Linked DNA regions of Homo sapiens: region 2 is linked to region 1. Evidence: promoter capture Hi-C in human tissues and cell types (Jung and others, 2019). All regions are on one chromosome and are shown on one strand. The core of a region is centred on a gene start or on the middle of the fragment in contact, and the rest is flanking DNA. Distances in the headings are between cores, read along the strand shown.

Evidence for each region. Contacts are between HindIII fragments. The study calls those that stand out against the background at their distance.
Region 2: a contact is called between a fragment that was not itself captured here and the fragment with the promoter of PTGER3 in region 1, in 2 of the 25 tissues and cell types used here (H1 embryonic stem cells and heart left ventricle).

What each region holds. Positions count from the first base shown.
Region 1 is chr1:71,043,834-71,050,038 of GRCh38, forward strand. PTGER3 (prostaglandin E receptor 3) reads right to left here and starts at 3,983. Exons shown (of 4, transcript NM_198719.2): 1 at 2,848-3,983. The coding sequence starts at 3,744. It overlaps ZRANB2-AS1 (ZRANB2 antisense RNA 1), which reads left to right and starts at 2,673. Exons shown (of 3, transcript NR_038420.1): 1 at 2,673-3,756; 2 at 4,981-5,155. RefSeq lists an enhancer at 3,397-3,980. The HindIII fragment of the contact is 12,323 bases long and covers 1-6,205 here.
Region 2 is chr1:70,794,963-70,801,019 of GRCh38, forward strand. No RefSeq gene overlaps it. Among named protein-coding and RNA genes, the nearest start is that of LINC01788, 92 kb to the left of the region's middle. The HindIII fragment of the contact is 8,802 bases long and covers 1-5,920 here.

The DNA of each region.
Region 1 (6,205 bases), core at 2,733-5,232:
TTAGAGGGAGTCCTGCTCTGTCACCCGTGCTGGAGTGCAGTGGCGTGATCTCGGCTCACAGCAACCTCTGTCTCCCTAGCCTAAGTAATTCTCCTGCATCAGCCTCCCGAGTAACTGAGATTACAGGCGCATGCCACCATGCCCCGCTAATTTTTGTATTTTTAGTAGAGGCGGGGTTTGGCCATGTTGGAATGCTGGTCTCGAACTGCTGACCTCAAATGATCCACTCACCTCGGCCTCCCAAAGTGCTGGGATTACAGGCGTGAGCCACTGCGCCCAGCCGATGGAACCATTTTCTTTAAAAAGTTCTCATTTCTCCTAGGCCGGGCACGGTGGCTCATGCCTGTAATCCCAGCACTTTGGGTGGCCGAGGTGGGCGGATCACCTCAGGTCAGGAGTTCGAGACCAGCCTGGCCAACATGGTGAAACCCCATCTCTACTAAAAATACAAAAATTAGCCAGGTGTGGTGGCGGGCGCCTGTAATCCTAGTGACTCCAAAGGCTGAGGCAGTAGAATCACTTGCACCTGGGAGGTGGAGGCTGCAGAGAGCTGAGATCTCACCACTGCACTCCAGCCTGGAGTTTTTTTTTTTGAGACAGAGTCTCAAAAAAAAAAAAAATTCTCCTTTTTGATATGATCACATGTTTAATTTATTTTGTTTAATGTTTTTATAATTGAATTAATAAAGTACCCAGTAAAATGCTATAAATCAATAAGTATTATCCAAATGAAAATAAATTGAAATTAAGTAAGACTAGTTTCAAATGCAGTCTTTCTTGAAAGAGTGAGTTTGGCCATCCTAAATTACAGTTTTCAAGATTGATCTACTTTCTTTCTGAGGCCACCATACTTTTGGTACTAGAATTAAAGTGTCTAAATCAAAAACACACTACATGGCTTCGCTTTGACTTAAAAACAAAATGCACAAACAATAAATTATAAGTCTGATTAACTGTATGGGTATTTTGTTCAATTGATTTAACTGCATTTTTTTTCCCTAGGATATAAATCATGTGATACAGCAAACTCAAAGATGTGGGACTCAAATGACACTTGTGAAAAACTGATACCCTGTTTGCCTTTAAAGTTATATTAATTACCACACTTTAGTAAAGTGTTTACTATTTAGAACTCTTTCTTCCTTCCTAGTTGGCCACCTGTACACTCCATTCCTCAGCCATAAAAGTAAATACTGTATATCTAAAACTGGTGCTGGTTTTGATAAGCCATAGTGATGACATCAGCCTGAGTTCCAACTCCTGGAATAAAGAACTGTGACCATACAGCGACTTGTGGGCAGTTAGGTCTCAGCATAACACTCCTTGTCCCCTCATGTCACTGATTTGGAGCCAAGGTTTGTGCTCCAATCTACCAAACCAGGTTAAAGAAATTACATTTCTATTTTCAAATGCAAGGGATTTAAAAGTATACATGGCGCACAAAAAACTCAACGTACTTAATGCCTAATGCCACTGAACTGTACACATAATAATGGTTAAAATACTGAATTGTATGTAATATATTTTACCATAATTAGGAAAGAAAAAAAACTGCGTTCACGTGTTTCAAAGGTTTTCCACAACTGTATAATACATATAGTTGGTTATACCTTTGTAACAGTGACCATATCGCTCTTTCTGCAACATCTATTAACCCAGACACCCCAGGGCCTAAGTAAGCATCCATTCTTCAGGAATTAGTAAACAGCACTTACACACGGACATTTCTAGCTAAAAGTAACACAGACAAAAAAACCTCAAAAATATCACGTAAGGGCAGGTGTTAGGCAAAGAGCCTCTGCAAACATCCCTTGCTCCTCTGCATTGCTCTGGTGTGAGGAGCTAGGACATGGAGAAACCTCTACCTCCTATCTCAGGATTAGCGAACCCTGCTTGAGTGCTACAAGGGTAAGTAAATGCTGGCCTGAAGAAGCTGCTGAGCTTCCGGATCCCACTGACTGTCGTTCGGGCACTTCCTAGAGGGTCAAGCACCATGGCGAAAGGCTGAGGAGGCAACTCGTATCTTTCATTCTCCTGCCTCATCAAGAATGAACCTTGAAGGCACCCATAGGTCGCGCAGTCTTTCAGAAGCTGCAGGAGGGCTGTGACTGTATGGGGTTGCAGACTGAAAATCTTATTAACGTGAAAGAGGAATTTGAAATTAAAAAAAAAAAACCCGGCCGGGCGCGGTGGCTCACGCTTGTAATCCCAGCACTTTGGGAGGCCGAGGCGGGTGGATCACGAGGTCAGGAGATCGAGACCACGGTGAAACCCCGTCTCTACTAAAAATAAAAAAAAAAAATTAGCCGGGCGTGGTGGCGGGCGCCTGTAGTCCCAGCTACTCGGAGAGGCTGAGGCAGGAGAATGGCGTGAACCCGGGAGGCGGAGCTTGCAGTGAGCCGAGGCTGCGCCACTGTACTCCAGCCTGGGTGACAGAGCGAGACTCCGTCTCAAAAAAAAAAAAAAAAAAAAACCCCACAATATCAGGCTACAGTTATCATAGCAATTCTGCTTTTAATGCACTCAGGACAAACTTCTAGCTCTGCATATATGTCATTTCAATGACACATCCTGTCTCCTACCCGACTAGAATGTGAGCAGCCCTGTGATCTCTATGTGCTCATAAACAGTGCCTAATGCGAATCCTGGCTCTTGGAAGGCGCTCAGCTAGTAAGTGAGGAGCTCAGCTCTGAAGCTGTAACCAAGACCGCGCGGGCAGGAGGAAAGGACACTTCAGCGCTCTGCGGTTGCAAACACACCCCTGCGGGTGCTGCCACTTAGCAAAGTCTTAGGTTCCCGCTTACTCGCACACGCATCCTGACTTCCCCCAACCCTGGAACTACCTACCAGGAGCGGAGACCAGCAGACCGACAGCACGCACATGATCCCCATAAGCTGAATGGCCGTCTCGGTCGTGATGCGGCCCCACTGGGCACTGGACTGAGATGCCGTGGCCTTGGCCCGGCAGCGGGACACCAGGGCCTTAATGGTGGCCAGGTTGCAGGAAAAGGTGACTGTCAGCGCCAAGAGCCCCAGGAAGGCAAAGGCAGAGGCGAAGAAAAGGTTGCCCCAGTTATGCGAAGAGCTAGTCCCGTTGCCCCCTCGCCCGGTGCTGATGAAGCACCACGTCCCGGGCCACTGGACGGTGTACTGGCCCACGCCCAGCACCGGCAGCAGGGCGAAGGCGAGCACGGCCAGCCACACGCCGAGCAGCACAGCGCGGGTGGCACGCGTCTTCATGTGGCTCGCATACCAGTGCGGCGCCCTGATGGCCAGCGCCCGCTCGACGGCCATGGCGCTGGCGATGAACAACGAGGAGAGCCCGAAAACAGTCATGGTCAGCCCGAAAAAGGTGCAGAGCCGCCCCGACGGGTCGATGTGCTCCCAACGCTGCTTGGACAGGTACACGACGATGACGACCGGGGTGGTGAGAAGCTGCCCGACCAGGTCGGTGAGCGCCAGCCAGCCGATGCACAGCAGGAAGGACTTCTTGCGCTTGCTCTCCCGGCGCCGGTAGCTGCGCGACACGAGCAGCATGGCCAGTGCGTTGCCCACGAAACCAGTGAGCAGCATGGTGATCGGGAAGGCCACGGACACCGATCCGCAATCCTCGCCAGACCCTGGAGGGCGCGTGAGGTTGCCCCGCGCCTCGGCGGAACGCTCGGGCGCCCACATGCCTGTGTAGGAGTGGTTGAGGCGGGTGCAGAAGGGGGCATCCCCTCCGTAGCCCCGGGTCTCCTTCATGTTGGCTTCGAGGTGAGGAGGGGATGGCGTCCAGAGAGCCGCAGCGGGAGGGGGCAGACGCGGCGCGGGCGGCGGCGGAGGTCGGCGTTTACCGCGGCTGGGGCTGGGCTGCCCCCCATGGTGCGGGGCGCAGCCGCCGCCCTACTCCGCTGCTGGGACCGCGGCCGCGGCGGCGCCAGGGCTCACTGGCCCGGGAGGGAGCCACGCCTTCCTCTCTGGGAAACCTCTGGTGGCGAGGCGCGCGGAGGTGCCGAGTCCCCTTTATAAGGCCGAGGGGGCGGGGCGCCCGTGGGTGTGGACAGAACCGAGGTGGGAGGAGGGTGCAAAGCAACTGAGCGCCTCTCTTGGCTGTTGCCTATCCTGATCGCCTGGGTTGGGAAGCCCCAGACGGTCTCCTCTGAAACGCCCTGCTCCTGGCCGGACCGGGAGCCCACTGGGGTCTCCTCCAGTTCTCCGCTAAAGTGTCGGTGGACGGCAAGCAGCTAATAAGTAGCACTGGACTTGCGGACCCCAGGCAAACTGCCGAGGCGCACCTGAGCGCTCGTCCTCCTGCTTCTTCAACCACAAACGCTCCTACAGGGACGGGATCCTTCTCCTGAAGTCCTTTAGTAACTCTGGTAAAGTGAAAATCGCCTGTCCTTAAGCAATCCACACAAGCCTTTGCATAGCTGATCGTTAACTTTTTTCCTTTCTGCTTTGTGACTCTAGAGTGATTATAAAAAGGCCAAGGTGTCCTGTCCCCTGGGGTGCCGCTGAAAACTATAAAATTACTAGACAGTGCCTGTAGACTTAAGGGAATAGACACAGGGAAACAAATACATCGGATGGTTGAATTCCAAGACCAAGAAATCCCAACTACTACCCCTCGCCTAATCCTGCCCGCTCCCCTCCCCACCACCCAACAAAAAGGTCAGCTATGGCAAAAGTGGCTACAGGAAGGTGGCATCAATTTGCATATCTGAGGTAGTGAAATCAACTGCTCCCAGCCTATGGGAGTGAGAGGGGAGCAGAAGAGAAAGGTATTCCTTACAAAGCCTCCAACCATCCTTCTTATCTTCATACAATAAGAACTAGAAAAGGTATTCAGATGTTATGAAGGCCTTAATCTATATGGAAACTTTGCCTTTGAAATAATAAACATTGAATGAAAATAGGCATACTTGCTTGCCTCGTAACATCTTTCAGTAAGCCAATATTTTATGTACTTCTCACAAGCATTTTCTCATTTTATCACAGAAATCCTCCAAGGTACTATTGCTATTATTATTTCCCTTAAAGGTGGGGTAACTGAGGCCCCATGAAGTTAAAGAATGTTCCTGAAGTCTCTCAGCAATTCTCAAGTCCCATCTTATTTGAAGCATGTATTCCTGACATGGGTCCCATAACTGCTCTCAGCAGATGAATATTAACGGTGAGATCATCTTCCCCTAATCTTGGGAAAGTCTTGTGTTTTTTGCTTTTTGCCTTTTTACACTGTCTAAGAGATGAAAAGATTTTTAAAAATAATTGCAAAGTTCATTTTTCCTCATATTTAAGAAATTAGACTTAATCATATAGCACTCTAAAGACCATTATTTTGATTGACACAGATCAACTTTCAGAACAAGCCCAATCAGTTTTGCCTTTCCTAGCTTAGCTGATGTTCTGTATGGGTGTTCTTAACTTTTAAATTACTGTTAAGAGGTAAGAATGGGATATGTCCCTCTGCATACTTTATGTGCTGTTGTCTTGATTCTGTATGAGAGTTTGAAAAAATATCACTATAACATTATATGTTTTTTAAAGAAGGAAAAGCAAGAATGCAACTTAAACTCCATTTTAATAAGATGCATTAATCACAACATGAATTTCATTTTGTGTTTTGCTGTCATTTAAAAATGTTTTGCACTTTTGCGTTTTACTGACTAAAATGTCACGTTTACAATGGGAACAACAGCTAGGAAGGGTGAAATGGTTTGATTCTAAAATCTTCCGTAAACTTTTGTCTTATTATTTTGAATTAATCTCAAACCTGTATTTGGGATAGTATTTTTCTAGCCTAATATCATTTGAAAATAAAATAATATTTGAGGTTATTCTTAGACAAAGCTTTATCCAAAGCATTTGGATGAAAGTGGCTATCAAGTTTATACCATCTATAGTTAGTAAAATTCTAGTGTAATTCAATATTTAAAATTTAAGACCATATCACCATTCACACAGCAAAGGAAGCAAGGCTTATCTTTTTCCAGTTACATCAAAAACTATTCTCATTTTTATTCACAAATATTTGACTTCTTTGAAACTTTTACTTCTCCCACTGAAGTGCTTGCTGTAGCCAATTGGACTTGATAAGCATGGTAAGCGTCGGGGCATGTATTAGTAAAGAATTGTTAGCCTCTCACTAACCTCTATGCCAATGAACAAAATGTGTTGCATTTCAGATAATTTGGGTATTTCTCTTCTTTCAGCACTTTGCTTC
Region 2 (6,057 bases), core at 270-2,769, 250 kb before region 1:
GAAAATTCTAGAAGAAAACCTAGGAAACACCCTTGTGGACATTGGCCTTAAAACAATTTCAACAAAAACAAAAATTGACAAGTGGGATCTAAGTAAACCAAAGAGCTTCTGCACAGCAACAGAAACTAACAACAGAGTAAACAGACAACCTATAGAATGGGAGAAAATATTCACAAACTATGCATCTGACAAAGGTCTAATATCCAGAATCTATAAGGAACTTAAATCAACAAGCAAAAAACAACCCCATTAAAAAGTGGGCAAAAAGGATGAACAGACACTTCTCAAAACAAGGACATACAAGTGGCCATCAAACATATGAAAACGTGCTCAGCATCACTAATGGTCAGATAAATGCAAATCAAAACCACAATGAGATACCATCTCATACCAGTCATTATAGCTATTATTATTATCTTTTTTATTATACTTTAAGTTCTGGGATACATGTGCAGAATGTGCAAGTTTGTTACAGAGGTATACATGTGCCATAGTAGTTTGCTGCACCCATCAACCCTCATCTAGGTTTTAAGCCCAACACGCATTAGGTATTTGTCCTAGTGCTCTCCCTCCCCTTGCCCCCTACCCCCAACAAGACCCAGTGTGTGATGTTCCCCTCCCTGTGTCCATGTGTTATTATTGTTCAACTCCCACTTGTGAGTGAGAACATGCCGTGTTTGGTTTTCTGTTCTTTATTTTTTTTTTTCTTGAGATGGAGTCTCACTGTTTCACCCACGCCAGACTGCAGTGGTGCAATCTCTATCTCAGCTCACTGCAAGCTTCTCCTCCCAGGTTCACGCCATTCTCCTACCTCAGCCTCCCAAGTAGCTGGGACTACAGGTGCCTGCCACCGCGCCCGGCTAATTTTTTGTATTTTTAGAAGAGACAGGGTTTCACCATGTTAGCCAGGATGGTCTCGATCTCCTGACCTCGTGATCCGCCCGCCTCAGCCTCCCAAAGTGCTGGGATTACAGGCGTGAGCCACTGCCCCCGGCCCAGTTTTCTGTTCTTGTATTAGTTTGCTGAGACTGATGGTTTCCAGCTTCATTCATGTCCCTGTAAAGGACATGAACTCATTCTTTTTTATGGAGGCATAATATTCCATGGTATATATGTGCCACATTGTCTTTACACAGTTTATCATTGATGGACATTTGGGTTGCTTCCAAGTCTTTGCTATTGTGAACAGTGCCGCAATAAACATACACGTGCATGTGTCTTTATAGCAGAATGATGTATAATCCTTTGGGTATATACCCAGTAGTGGGATTGCTGGGTCAAACGCTGTTTCTGATGCTAGATCCTTGAGGAATCACCACTGTCTTACTCAATGGTTGAACTAATTTACACTCCCACCAACAGTGTAAAAGCATTCCTATTTCCCCACATCCTCCCTATCTATTGTTTCCTGACTTTTTAATGATCACCATTCTAACTGACGTGAGATGATACCTCATTGTGGTTTTGATTTGTATTTCTCTAATGACCAGCAATGATGAGCTTTTTTTCATATGTTTGTTGGCTGCATAAATGTCTTCTTTTGAGAACTGTCTGTTCATATCCTTTGCCCACTTTTTGATAGGGTTGTCTTTTTCTTGTAAATTTAACTTCCTTGTAGATTCTGGATATTAGCCCTTTGTCAGATGGATAGATTGCAAAAATTTTCTCCCATTCTGTAGGTTCCCTGTTCATTCTGATGATAGTTTCTTTTGCTGTGCAGAAGCTCTTTAGTTTAATTAGATCCCATTTGTCAATTCTGGCTTTTGTTAACATTGCTTTTGGTGTTTTAGTCATGAAGTTTTTGCCCATGGCTAGGTCCTGAATGGTATTGCCTAGTTTTCTTCTAGGGTTTTTATGTTTCAAGTTTTATGTTTAAATCTTTAATCCATCTTGAGTCAATTTTTGTATAAGGTATAAGGATGGGGTCCAGTTTCAGTTTTCTGCATATGGCTAGCCAGTTTTCCAAGCACCATTTATTAAATAGGTTGTCCTTTCCCCACTGCTTGTCTTTGTCAGGTTTGCTGAAGATCAGGTGGTTGTAGATGTGTGGTATTATTTCTGAGGCCTCTGTTCTGTTCCATTGGTCTATATATCTGTTTTGGTATCACTACCATGCTGTTTTGGTTACTCTAGCCTTGTAGTATAGTTTGAAGTCAGGTAGCATGATGCCTCCAGTTTTGTTCTTTTTGCCTAGGACTGTGTTTGTTATATGGGCTCTTTTTTGGTTCCATATGAAAAACCAAACACCGCATGTTCTCACTCATAGGTGGGAATTGAACAATGAGAACACATGGACACAGGAAGGGGAACATCACACACCAGGGCCTGTTGGGGGGTGGGGGAGGGGGGAGGGATAGCATTAGGAGATATACCTAATGTTAAATGATGAGTTAATGGGTGCAGCACACCAACATGGCACATGTACACATATGTAACAAACCTGCACGTTGTGCATATGTACCCTAAAACTTAAAGTATAATTAAAAAGAAAAAAAGAAATTTATAGTAGATTTTTCTAGCTCTGTGAAGAAAGTCAATGGTGGCTTGATGGGAATAGCATTGAATCTATAAATTGCTTTGGTCAGTATGGCCATTTTCATGATATTGATTCTTCCTATCCATGAACATGGAAAGTTTTTCATTTGTTTGTATTCTCTCTTATTTCCTTGAGCAGTGGTTTGTAATTCTCCTTGAAGAGGGCTTTCACGTCCCTTGTAAGTTGTATTTCTAGGTGTTTTATTCTCTTTGTAGCAATTGTGAATGGGAGTTCACTCATGATTTAGCTCTCTGTCTATTATTGGTGTATAGGAATGCTTGTGATTTTTGCACATTGATTTTGTATCCTGAGACTGCTGAAGTTGCTTATCAGCTTAGGGAGATTTTGGGATGAGACAATGGGGTTTTAGAAATATACAATCATGTCATCTGCAAACAGAGACAATTTGACTTCCTCTCTTCCTATTTGAATACCTTCATTTCTTTCTCTTGCCTGATTGCCCCGGCCAGAACTTCCAATGCTATGTTGAACAAGAATGGTGAGAGAGGGCATCCTTGTCTTGTGCTGGTTATCAAAACGAATGTTTCCAGCTTTTGCCCATTCAGTATGATATTGGCTGTGGGTTTCTCATAAATAGCTCTTATTTTGAGATATGTTCCATCAATACCTAGTTTATTGAGTGTTTTTAGCATAAAGAGGTGTTGAATTTTATCGAAGGCCTTTTCTGCATCTATTGAGATAATCATGTGGTTTTTGTCATTGGTTCTGTTTATGTGATGGATTACATTTATTGATTTGTGTAAGTTGAACTAGCCTTGCATCCCAGGGATGAAGTCAACTTGATTGTGGTGAATAAGTTTTTTGATGTGCTGTTGGATTCAGTTTGCTAGTATTTTACTGAAGATTTTTTCATCGATACTCATTAGAGATTTTGCCCTGAAATTTTCTTTGTTTCTGTGTCTCTGCCAGGTTTTGGTATCAGGATGAGGCTGGCTTCATAAAGTGAGTTAGGGAGGAGTCCCTCTTTTTCTATTGTTTGGAATAGTTTCAGAAGGAATAGTACCATCTCCTCTTTGTACCTCTGGTAAAATTTGGCTGTGAAGCTGTCTGGTCCTGGGCTTTTTTTTGGTTGATAGGCTATTAATTACTGCCTTAATTTCAGAACTTGTTATTGGTCTATTCAGGGATTTGACTTCTTCCTGGTTTAGTCTTGGAAGGATGTATGTGTCCCAGACTTTATCCATTTCTTCTATATTTTCTAGTTCATTTGCATAGAAGTGTTTATAGTATTCTCTGATGGTAGTTTGCATTTCTGTGGGATCAGTGGTGATATCCCCTTTATCATTTTTTATTGTGTCTATTTGATTCTTCTCTCTTTTCTTCTTTATTAGTCTGGCTAGTGGTCTATCTATTTTGTTAATCTTTTCAAAAAACCAGCTCCTGGATTCATTGATTTTTTTGAAGGGTTTTTCGTGTCTCTATCTTCCTCAATTCTGTTCTGATTTTAGTTATTTCTTGTCTTCTGCTTGCTTTTGAATTTGTTTGCTCTTGCTTCTCTAGTTCATTTAATTGTCATGTTAGCGTGTCGATTTTAGATCTTTCCAGTTTTCTGATGTGGGCATTTAGTGCTATAAATTTCCCTCTTAACACTGCTTTAGCTGTATGCTAGAGATTTTGGTACATTGTGTCATTGTTCTCATTGGTTTCAAAGATCTTATTTATTTCTGCCTTAATTTCATTGTTTACCCAGTAGTCATTCAGGAGCAGGTTGTTCAGTTTCCATGTAGTTGAGTGGTTTTGAGTGAATTTCTTAATCCTGAGTTCTAATTTGATTGCACTGTGGTCTGAGAGACTGTTCATTGTGATTTCCATTCTTTTGCATTTGCTGAGGGGTGTTTTACTTCATTATAGCTATAATTAAAAAGTCAAAAAATAACAGATACTAGAGAAGCTGCAGAGAAAAGGGAACACTTATCCATGTTGGTGGGAGTAAAAATTAGTTCAGCTACTGTGGAAAGCAGTTTGGAGATTTCCTCAACAACTTGAAACAGAGCCACCATTCAACCCAACAATCCCATTACTGGGTATATATCCAAAGAAAATAAATCATCCTACCAACACGACACATACTCAAATGTTTATCACAGTACTATTCACAATAGCAAAGACATGGAATCAACTTAGGTGCCCATCAGTGGTAGACTGGAAAAAGAAAATGAACATATACACCATGGAATACATATGCAGTCATAAAAAAGATTGAAAGTATGTCATTTGCAGCAAAATTGATGCAGCTGGAGGCCATTATCCTAAGCAAAATAACAGAGGAACAGAAATTCCAACACTGCACATTCCCACTTACAAGTGGGAGTTAAACATTGGGAACTTTGGTATTTATTTATTTTTTGTTATTATTATTCTTTTTTGATGGAGACTTGCTCTGTCACCAGGCTGGAGTGCAGTGGCATGATCTCAGCTCACCACAACCTCCGCCTCCTGGGTTCAAGCAATTCTCCTGCCTCTGCCTCCCCAGTACCTGGGACTACAGGTGTGTGCCACCATGCCCAGCTAATTTTTGTATTTTTAGTAGAGACGGGGTTTCACTATGTTGGCCAGGCTGGTCTCGAACTCCTGACCTCATGATCCACTCGCCTCGGCTTCCCAAAGTGCTGGGATTACAGGTGTGAGCCACCGTGCCTGGCCAACATTGGGAACTTACGGATATAAACAAGGCAATAATAGACACTGGAGACTAATGGGGGGACAGAGGTTAAAAAAACTAACTGCTGAGTACCATGCTCACTATCTGGGTGACAGGATTATTCATGTCCCAAACTTTAGCATAATGCAATATACCCATGTAACAAACCTGCACATGTACCCTCTGAATCTAAAATAAAAGTTGAGATTATAAAAATAGAAATAAACAAAAAAAAATGAAAAAAAAATCTCCTTCTTATAAGGACACCAGTCACATTGGATTAGGGGCCTGCTCAATCCAAATCACATCTGCAATGAACCTATTTCCAAATGAAGTCACATTCTGAGTTACTAGGGTTAAGATTTCAATATATGAACCTAAGGGGTGGGGACAGGGACACAATTCAACCCACATCAGAAACCAACAGTGTCTTCTGTCTGATCCATAGTCTGGTGCCTATGTTTCCAAGCTCTGGTCTGTCCAGTCTTCATATTACAAAACCTACATCATGTACCTGCACCCTCACTGTAATGAAGTCTGGAAATCTAGTTTCTGGAGTTCACCTTAGGAAAATGAGACTCACAGTGTGGGATCCTAGCAGAATGTAGAGAGGGTGTTCAAAAATATGAGGATCTACAGTTCATACATACACATTATAGCTAGATCTCAATTCCAGCCCTGCTCCTTCTGAATCTTCAGTTAGTTACTTAAACTCCCTGGTCTTCAATTTCCTCATTTTCAAAATGGGATTTTATGTGGCTTAAATGTTAAGGACTTAACATTATGTGTGTACATAAACAGATACTCCACGAATGCTGGATCCTTTTACTTCTGTTCAGTCCTCAGAACGCTTAGAACT